Linked DNA regions of Homo sapiens: region 2 is linked to region 1. Evidence: promoter capture Hi-C in 16 types of primary human blood cells and fetal thymus (Javierre and others, 2016). All regions are on one chromosome and are shown on one strand. Each heading gives the region's core, a stretch centred on a gene start or on the middle of the fragment in contact. The rest is flanking DNA. Distances are from core to core; before and after follow the strand shown.

The links. The method cuts DNA at HindIII sites, captures the fragments that hold promoters and counts their contacts. A CHiCAGO score of 5 or more calls a contact.
Region 2: a contact is called between the fragment with the promoter of H2AJ here and the fragment with the promoter of CLEC2B in region 1, in 1 of 17 cell types (non-activated CD4 T cells). The highest score is 5.2, in non-activated CD4 T cells.

Annotation. Positions count from the first base shown.
Region 1 is chr12:9,868,104-9,873,106 of GRCh38, reverse strand. CLEC2B (C-type lectin domain family 2 member B) reads left to right here and starts at 3,753. Exons shown (of 5, transcript NM_005127.3): 1 at 3,753-3,902. The HindIII fragment of the contact is 5,556 bases long and covers 3,639-5,003 here.
Region 2 is chr12:14,772,066-14,777,252 of GRCh38, reverse strand. H2AJ (H2A.J histone) reads right to left here and starts at 2,848. Exons shown (of 1, transcript NM_177925.5): 1 at 2,229-2,848. The coding sequence starts at 2,782. The coding sequence ends at 2,393. RefSeq lists enhancers at 1,738-1,887, 1,594-2,510, 2,398-2,557, 2,568-2,897, 3,088-3,297 and 1 more. The HindIII fragment of the contact is 5,193 bases long and covers 1-4,459 here.

The DNA.
Region 1 (5,003 bases), core at 2,504-5,003:
CTATTGTTTGGAAAAGGTATAACTGCCCTGCTGATGCTGTACAGGCGCTCTTGGGCTTGCCTTGGCTCAGCATGGCGTGGCATGGCATGACATGGCTCGCACTGGTGCCCAGAAAGAGAGTAGCACTATTGACCCTTGTAAGGGAGAGCCAGTCGCCTTGAAGGCAGGCAGAGGGGAACCAGGAACGAGCTTGTGCCCAGAGGGAAAGAGTTAAGCTGCTAATCCTGACAGAGCTGGCCTTGCAGGCCAGGGCGTGCTGCTGCAGGCGTGGCGGCGGCAGGAGTCCCAGAGCCAGAGCAGACAGCGGAGATAAAGGCAGACAGTGTGAGAGAGTCGCTGTTGGTAAATAAAACTACATTTCACCTGCTTAGGGCCCCCAAGTGTTCTTTCAGCTATCGCCCATCCACCCACTCCCCTCAGACCTCAGCATGGGCTGGAACCTAACCTGGGTCATGACATTTGGAGTCATTGTGGCCCTAATGCCAAGCTAATAAAATAAATACTTAGAACTCATCAATTTGTGATGATTTTTAGAAGATTTTGCTATTATCCATGCATGAAATTATTAACATCTGTTACATCCGTATAGTGAAAATAATACGTAATGCTGTACTACTGCATATTTATTTCCAACTCTGTGTGTTCAGTGATGTCACCTGGGTACCTTGAAATCAGCAATGGTGGGAATAATTACATCACGGAAATCAGCTGGTGTTACAAACCAGAGCTTGTTATGTGTGTGTTTTTCTCTGTTCCACCAGTTGTTAAAGGACAGCACAGAAGTGGAAGCACCCTTTTTGGCTCTCTATATTACTTCTGTGAACATTGAGCTCTATCTGACATTGCTATGGCTCTATATGTCAGTAATCCTGGCTGCTATTGCAATTTGACCCTCATTACTATAATTGGCCCCAGCTTGTTTCAGAGTGGCACTCTGACACTTGGCGTTTCCTACTTCAAACCCTGTCCCAATACTCTCTCTGAATTCAGTTCTGTGGGAACATCTCCCACTGTAATCTTTGGCATGTAGAGAAGAACTATGCTAAGCTTCTCAGTGATGTTTATGTAGGACTTAAGTTCTTCCACCAGCGCCTTCCTTACTGCTTTGGTAAATAAGGTGCCCATTATATCATCCCATAGAACATAGTCAGTTGGTGGGTTTCCTGTCCTTATCTAGTTTATCCACTGTAGCATGCCCACTTCTCTAAGCATTTTTATCTTTTCTTCAGCTACCTGCCATGGGAATTCTGGAATGTTACTCTACTCAGCGTGAGCCATTGCTTTCTCCAATCTTCTTGGAGTTATTTCAGCAGTATGTCAGCACTGTTCACAGTATTTTTCCAAGTTATTAAATTCTGTATTGCAACTGAATGCCCTAATGTTGATAAAATCTCCCTTATCCAGCTTTATGTTTCTCTCATGATCTAGCACCCTCAGAATCCAATCCCATTGTGTACACTCCAAGCTGTTGTTATTATATATTGGTTAGGTCCAAATTCATTCTGAGTATAGCCCTTTCTCTCCCTTATAAGCTTAGCACATAACCTTAGTTATTGGCCTTATGACCAATAACTAAGAAAGGCAAGTAAGGGAGGGATTCCTGTAAGGAGGGTGTGAAGGGCACAATATTTTCTTTAAGGAAAAAGGCATGACCTCGACAAGGGAGAACATGTAACTTTGTTAGGATTAGAGAGTCCAACGTTTAGAAGCTTCTAGATTTTTAAAATTTTTGAGAAAAAAAATTGTGAAAAGTCACTATACAAATGATGGAAAGTATTTTTAATACATTTATCTAAAAATGGAATTTTTCTATATTATGTTGCAACCCATTTTACTTATTTATATACACATTTTTATGTGTATGTTTCTCTACATATATATTTACATATATATAAAATCTTAAAAATCACCATAAGGAAACAAATAAATCCATAAAAATGGGAAAAATATTTAAATAGGTCATTGAAAAAAGATATATGAGTTACCAATACGCACGTGAGTAAATGCTCAATATAACATCAGAGATGTACAAATTAAAATCACATTTAGATTCTACTACACGCCTACTAGAATGGTTAAATTGAAAAAGATTGGGCATATCTAATATTGCTATTTATGTGGAGCAAATAGAACCATCCAATATTCATGTTGGGAATGGCACAACTTTTTGGAAAAAAATACATTTATAAAATAAAACATACATTTTCTATGTAACCTAGCAGTTTCACATCCAGGTATTTCTTCAAAAGATTAAAAAACGTGTCAATAGAAAAACTTTTGCATAAATGTTTATTTTGACCTTATGATATCCAAGAAGTGGAAAAAGCTCAATGTCATAATGGATACATTTTATTATAAAATAGATAAAAATATTTTATGTCTGTACAATGAAATACTACTCAGTAATAAAAAGAAATTAACTGCTGATCTGTGCAAAAACATGGATAAAACTCAAAAACATTATGCTCAGTGAAAGACATCAGACTTACAAGAATTGCCAACTGTATCATTCTGCTTAACAGGAATTTCTAAAACCAGCAAAGCTCATGTTTATTGACAGTAAGTTGGCTGCTGCCTGGCTTCAGGGGTGAGGATGAACTGCAAAGCAACAGCGGGGAACATTTCCCTGTGTTGAAAATGTTTTATATCTTAACTGTTGTATCTTGACTGTTTTCCTTTTTGGAACAAAACTAAATTTCACTCAACCATACTTGAGTAATCTCTATATTTTTCTATACATGCTTTTCTAATAGTTCTTTGGATACAATCTTTTGTTAACAACAAAGGTAGAATATATTCATTTCCTCATGAATTTTCTGTCTTTTTTTTCTGTCCAAAAATGAAAAGAGCAATTTTGTTATCTGTCCTTTCCTTCTGCCCAGAAATGATTAAACCTGTATTTCTTATTCTCTTCATATTTTCTTTGTTTTAATTCCTTTGTACTACAGTTTCTTCTCTATTCTCATTTGCTTTTCCTCTTCAAGTTTCTCTCTCAGAACAAATGCAGTGTTAATCCCGAAGCCGCTTGCGGGACACTGGCTTCTTCTCCTCAGTTTCCTCCCTAATATATTTGTTGAGGGGTAATACAAAATCACTGGGAAACTGATTAGAGCAGATTTGAAGACAAAATTGTGGCCTGGTAACTTAGCAAAAGCATAATGGTGTCATCTTGTATGCTGATGATAACGTTCTGGGCACTTTGTTACTTTCGTTTTCTTTTTTCCCTCTGTGTGTCTTTGTGTGTGTTTGTGTGTGTGCTCACACCCACACGTGTGACTTTGCACGCATTTGTCTTTGAGAGAGAGATAATAGTTTTTGTTTTTCTTTCAGTAGCCAAAGTTTAAACCATTGCTTTTTCTTTGATTCTATCGCTTTTAAGGTGATCTTTCTTAACACAGGATAAGAAAGCAGTAATGTCCTAAAGAATGCTGTTGAATTAATTAGTATCAGCCTCTCCTACAGTTCTGGAAGGATACGTGGTTAAGTACCACTCCTGGATGAATCAGAAAAACAGCCACTTGAGCAATTTCGTGTTCTGTGGTTCAGATGAGAATCCCAGTTGAGAAAGTAAGAAAATATGTGTTTATTCTTCAGCTTTAAATTGTTATATCACAAACTTCCTTCCTCCTTGGCAAGCTTTCTTTTTTGACGAGAAGAAAATTGTAATAAACAACAGTATGACTAATAGATAGTCACATGGTTACTTCCAGTTTGCAAAATGCTATTTATACTTTGAGTTACTCTTCAAAAGTGGTATACCTCTAGTTTGGAGCTGTGCTGTAAAAACAAGAGTAACATTTTTATATTAAAGTTAAATAAAGTTACAACTTTGAAGAGAGTTTCTGCAAGACATGACACAAAGCTGCTAGCAGAAAATCAAAACGCTGATTAAAAGAAGCACGGTAAGAACATTTTTGTTTGTTTAGAATGACCGTTATTTATTGAAATTGTGATGCAGAATGTTAAAGCCTTCGAGAAAAGAATTAAATTTTGTGGTTTCTTTTGTGAAACTAGAAAATTCCTTCTTATAACAAGATTGAGATTTGCATATGACTGTTTTGTCCTAATAAATTCAGACTTACTTTACATTATTTGAATTACAATGGAGAAGGATTAACCATGACTTAAAACTGCTCAAGATTTAGTTTCATTTTTACTAAGTATTTTATAAAACAAATACTTGAGAAGATGATAGATATGATCCAGATACTCATACAGTTCTCAGAATGCATACATAATATGATAAATTTAGCCAATAGTTCTAATATTTTTAAAGATTGCTTTATTGGATGGTGTAAAGATACTCCGGGCTTTAGGAGTACTTAACGGAAAGAATATATCCCTTTCCTACTCTTACTAAGGAATTGCTAGTACTCCGATATCCATGGAGATGTCTTTACCAACCCTAAGAAGGATAAGGAAAGAAAATGTTCTAAAAAATACACTATGAAACAACCTGGTAACATTGGATTTATTAAATAGCAAGTTCGGAATATATAAGATCCAAGCTACATCTTTGAGATTTCAACAGGGTTTATTTATGTCAAAATATTTGAAAGAGAAAAGGCTGAAACTAAATGCATTCAATACAACGATCTATGATTTAGAGATTTAGGGACTGTGATGAGCTTTAAGCATTTCCCGTTTAACTAAATGTCAACCTACCAGCGTATGCTACGGTCAAAAAAATTATTGCTGTGGTACAATAGAATGCACACTTTATCCTTCCTCCCGTATTTTAACCGGTTTTATAATTCTGCCTAAAGTTAGATAAAACAGGTTTGCGGGGAATGAGATCAATATTTGATGGTAGCATAAAATATCATTTTAATCAAAAGTTTTAAGAAGGCCTTCCAGCCACTAGTAAAACCAGTGTTATTTTCTACTTTCAATCAATTGTATAAATTTATACATTTGTATATAAATACATTATATAATACAATATTATATATCATATTACATATGAATATATTTTAAAAGTTACTGAATAATATATTCAGTAT
Region 2 (5,187 bases), core at 1,599-4,098, 4.9 Mb before region 1:
TCCATATGGTCTTATGCTTAAAGAAATACTGGCCTTTTAAATTCATAATCACACATCAGCAAGAACTACTGTTTGTTCATCATGGATCATGGGCTGAGCTGATTTTGTAGGAGTATGCATTTTAAACAGCCCGTAAACTATTCGGGTTAAAAAAAAAACTCTCAAAAACAAAAATGGTGAGGGGCTGACTGAACGTTGAGGCAGGCAGAGTATGTGAGGGGATGCTAAGAATCCTTTGGGTAGTGGTGGGAGAGGCGGGTGGCGACAGGGCAGTTACAATGCCTCGTATCTTGTCTATGTTGCTCATCATGTAACAAGAGCTGGACAGATTCCTGTGAATCTTCCCAGGGGAAGGCAAAGGTGCTTTTTCTTATGAATGTCTTGATGTCCCTTGTCCTTATTTCTTCATCATTTTGGTAACAATCCCTCAGATGCCTCATCCCTTTAAGAAATTTAGACTCAAATGTCAAAACCATATATGCATTTTGTTCCACTGACCCCAAGTGGTAACTGTGAGTAGTAGTTCTAACAATGAGGCATTTTTTAAAAAGTCCTATTAATGTTTACCTATAATTTAACCTATAAGGATAAACCCATACCCCCATTGAACATGGTACTTTTTTCCATTTATTGTCTAATATGTGGCACACAGTAAATGAACAATCTCAATCCTTAAAACAGGTGTTATGACTTTTACATATGACAAAACCACAGAGTAAATAGCAGAACATCTCGAACCTGCCCAATAATTTGCCTCCTAACAGAGGTGTGTACGGCCTGACCTTTGTACACCTCAAAAATGGCAACATGGGAGAAGTAATTCCATCATTCATCCACACACAGCAGAGAGGTACAAGTACTAACAGAAGCTGATCTCTCATATTAACGTATGTATTTGTTCCTTGTCCCGTCTTCAGGAACCAATAAAAATAAAGTGAGCTCCGAGAGAGTGGAAATCTGGTTGGCCTCATTCACAGCTCTACTCCTATCACTTTGTACAGAGCCTGGCATAGACAGCTGTTCAATAAATACTGGGGACAAAATAAAGTCCATGTGGGAAAATGGGCCAGCCGCTACCAAGGATGAAGACATACAATATATACATATATTTTTGGGGAAGACTTCAATTCCGACTCACAGGAAAGATGAATCCAAAGATGTGAAATCTGTACTGGGATCTTTTTTGTGGGGTCTGTGAGCCAGGATGAAATTTGCTGAGGATGAAATAAATAGGAGTGTCAATTAAGGGCAGAAGATGATTACTAGTGTTAACTTTTCAATGTGGATTCCTGGTCTGAAATGTGTTTCCCCCTGCACTTACATATTTGGTCCTATCTTTCCTTACATGTTTATTAAAGCAATATTGTGCCATTAGGCAATGCAACTCCCAAAGACATTACTGGAATGAGGTCATTGCTTCAGGCTAGTGGGAGAATATAAGAGAGTTCAAACAGGTTATTTGTTGGGTAAGAACCCCTAAAAGCAAGAGGTTTTTGTTTTGTTTGAAAGCAAAGTCAAACCGATTCTCAAAGTGAATATGATATGATGAAGACAGGATCATTATGAAGCTAGAAACTTGACAACATCACTTTAAAAGCTCAAGCATATGTAACCCACGACTAAAGGCGCTGCAATGTTATGCAATATGACTGTCAGGGGAACGAATTTCCAACCTCATGACTCACTTATTGAACGTTTCCTTCATTAAAAAAAAAATATGAACATAAAAGTGCTATATAAAGATATCTGATATCCAAAGCATGAAAGCACAGCAGCTACTAGGCTAGGAAGAATCTCAAGTTGACATCGTGCCATCAGAGCCACCCTTCCAAGACGGAAAGTTACTCCACTTTTTGAAAAATATGGCCGCAGACACTTCCTGCCCCGAGCTCAGCTCGATCCGACGGTATCTTCCCAGAACTTGGTCCTGAGTGCTCACAAACTGGCAGGAGAGCGAAGGCTCTGTGAAAGGGAAGTAAAAATAATTCCGAAGGAGGCCTCACCGCACCGACTCTGCCTCCCCTTTGCCCTACTGACAGCGAGGTGGCTTCCACCCTGCCCACCTCCAGGCCACCCTCCCCTGACGCCTCGAGGGTGACCTGCGGACTAAAGCCGTCCAGAGTGGCTCAAGCCCACCCACCAGTGCCTGCTCCAGGGGTTTCCCGGTCGCCCCCCTCCCCTGGGGCCATCCGACATGTCCCCGCGACTACACAGCTCTCTCGACCAAACGATTTTCACCAACTTTATTGGCTCCCGCCGGGACCCTCGCCGCCCACCTCCCCGCTAGATGTCACCGGCCCTCCATGACATCCAGCACATTCAAAAGCATTGCGGGACGACCATGAAAAGGGCCTTTGCTGGGGGAGCCAGCTCCCTGAGGGCGGCGTCAGGGTCATTTGCTCTTCGTCTTCTGACTCTCCGTCTTCTTGGGCAGCAGCACGGCCTGGATGTTGGGCAGGACGCCGCCCTGAGCGATGGTCACTTTGCCCAGCAGCTTGTTTAACTCCTCGTCGTTGCGGATGGCGAGCTGCAGGTGGCGGGGAATTATCCTGGTCTTCTTGTTGTCACGCGCGGCGTTGCCAGCCAGCTCCAGGATCTCCGCCGTAAGGTACTCCAACACCGCCGCCAGGTACACCGGCGCCCCGGCGCCCACTCGCTCCGCGTAGTTCCCTTTGCGCAGCAGTCTGTGCACTCGGCCCACCGGGAACTGCAGGCCCGCGCGGGAGGAGCGGGATTTGGCCTTTGCTCGCACTTTGCCGCCCTGTTTCCCGCGACCGGACATGATCACCTCTCGCCTACAACTCCAGAGACGGAGACAAACCGCTCTCGGCGTCCGGTACCGGAATGCAACGTACCGCACCCGAACTGCCTCTACAAACTCTTTACGGCCGCGCGGCAGCCCCTTTCCATTGGCTCTGGTGACCAATGACAGGCAGGCTCCGCTCCCAACTAGCGCTCTGGAAGAGAGACCGCCTCCTCCAGCTCTCTCCAATCAATAGAGCAATCTCCGAATCCTCATTTACATAGCCGCTCACATAAATAACGAGGCCAGCCGGCTCAGTCTTTGGGGACCCAGATGAATTTAGCGGTTACGGGTTTTCCACGACCACGCTCGCTTCCAAGCACATAAACTCGTAGGAAATAAGAAAACATGGTTGGAAACAGAAAACAATCCAGAAGAAGAGCTACAGGGGTTGTCCGTAGACGTTGCTATGCTAAGTGGATGTTCTCATATAATACACCGTACTACTCAGGTAGGTTTCTGTCTCCGCAGCCCGTGCTGCTTAGGCGAAACAACAGCCTGTCCGCGGAATTCTGCCTGCCCAGGACAGGGTCCGTGGACTGTTTCTTATACAAGCGCCTTGCCTCCAGCTAGCTACCCAACAGTGTAGAGACCACCCTGGTCTCCCCGCAGGGTCCTGCGGCTCACAGCCAGCCAATCGTTCACTTTTGAGTCTGAAGCTAGAGTGATGACCAGACGTGAATGCTTCCTGTGCTGACGGGAGGAACAAGCTCGCCTAGCCAAAATATCTTTTGTCTTTGAGGCTATGGGCCTGCAAAGAGCCACTAGGTTTTATTGGAGAGGCCAAAGTCTTGGCCTTGGCTTGCTCCCCGCAAGCCAGGGCGCCACAGATCAGCGGATCGGGTCCTCTGCGAAGACGTGGAGGTCCCCCGGGTCTCTTTGTAAATGAGTCCAGAGACTAAAGTCAGAATGGCAGCTTATTCTTATATACCTGAATTGTGGACCCATGCTTTTTGAAACAAAAAGAGTGTTTCAAGTGTTTTGTTTTAATTAAAAATTACTTTCTCCTAATTCATCGAGGTCATTTCATTTTTACCTGAACATTTTCAGTAACACAGTTAACACCGATACGTGATGTAATGTTGAACGCTTGCTTTTTAAAATAAACATTTTATGTGGATTCATTTACATTTAAAGTAAAGCAAATTTACCTTCTCACTATCCGAATAAAGATTTGACTTCATTGAAATAACATTTTCAAATATTTATGTATATGTCATTACTGCCTAGAACAATGATGAACCCATACTGGGGACTCAATAAATGTCTTCAGAGCTATTGTCATGGTTTAGGCGGTCTTTCCGGAGCCAGTCTGCCTCAGCCTAAATCCTGGCTTTACCACTGAGCAGTGACCTTTGATAAGTTATTTGACTCCTCTACCTGTATCAAAGTGTTTTGAAAATTAAATACGTTAGTAAGCATCCAATAACTCTTAGATATACCAAATAAATGGGCATACAAATCTCTGATGCAGTTTTTAACGAGATGTTCCTGGAATGAGTTCTGTAAACTAGCTTAAATTTTTGCCTGTATCTTGGGGAATTTTCAAGAGTTTTTAAAAGTATTACTATTTTAGACACGATTTTTTTTCTTTTATTCCAATAAGCAAGAGATTTCTAATTTGAAAATGTTCTAGTCTTGATTTCTTAGAAAGCTTAACTATAAGTAAGTCAACCGATTTTACCATTACAATAATTTTTTTTTTTTTTTTTTGAGACGGAGTCTCGCTCTGTCGCCCAGGCTGGAGTGCAGTGGCGCGATCTCGGCTCACTGCAAGCTCCGTCTCCCGGGTTCACGCCATTCTCCTGCCTCAGCCTCCCGAGTAGCTGGGACTACAGGCGCCCGCCACCACGCCCGGCTAATTTTTATGTATTTTTAGTAGAGATGGGGTTTCACCATGTTAGTCAGGATGGTCTCGATCTCCTGACCTCGTAATCCGCCCTCCTCGGCCTCCCAGAGCGCTGGGATTACAGGCGTGAGCCACCGCGCCCGGCCCCATTACAATAATTCTTATCTCTTCAAGATCTGATAGACTTTTCCTCTTCCCTCTGAGTCAAATATTAAAATCATGAGTGAAGTTCGACCATTCAGGACTTTTTCCAGCCATTCAAGACAGTGTTCCAACTCTTTTATCTTTAACAAAAAGTAAAAGAAAAATAAATACCTTTTGGGTTATGAAGATGGGCATGGATTGAAACAAATGTAAACTATAGGCATTTATAAATATAACAAAATTTTACCATAAAGTCTTCCTGCTGTAAAGGCTTATCTTCAAGACCAGGGACAAAGAAGCCCCACTTACTAAAATTCATTGCTCAGAATCCTAATTAACTACCTGGGAAAGACTTATGACTCATCCTCTAAATAACAGCTGCTTTTTAACA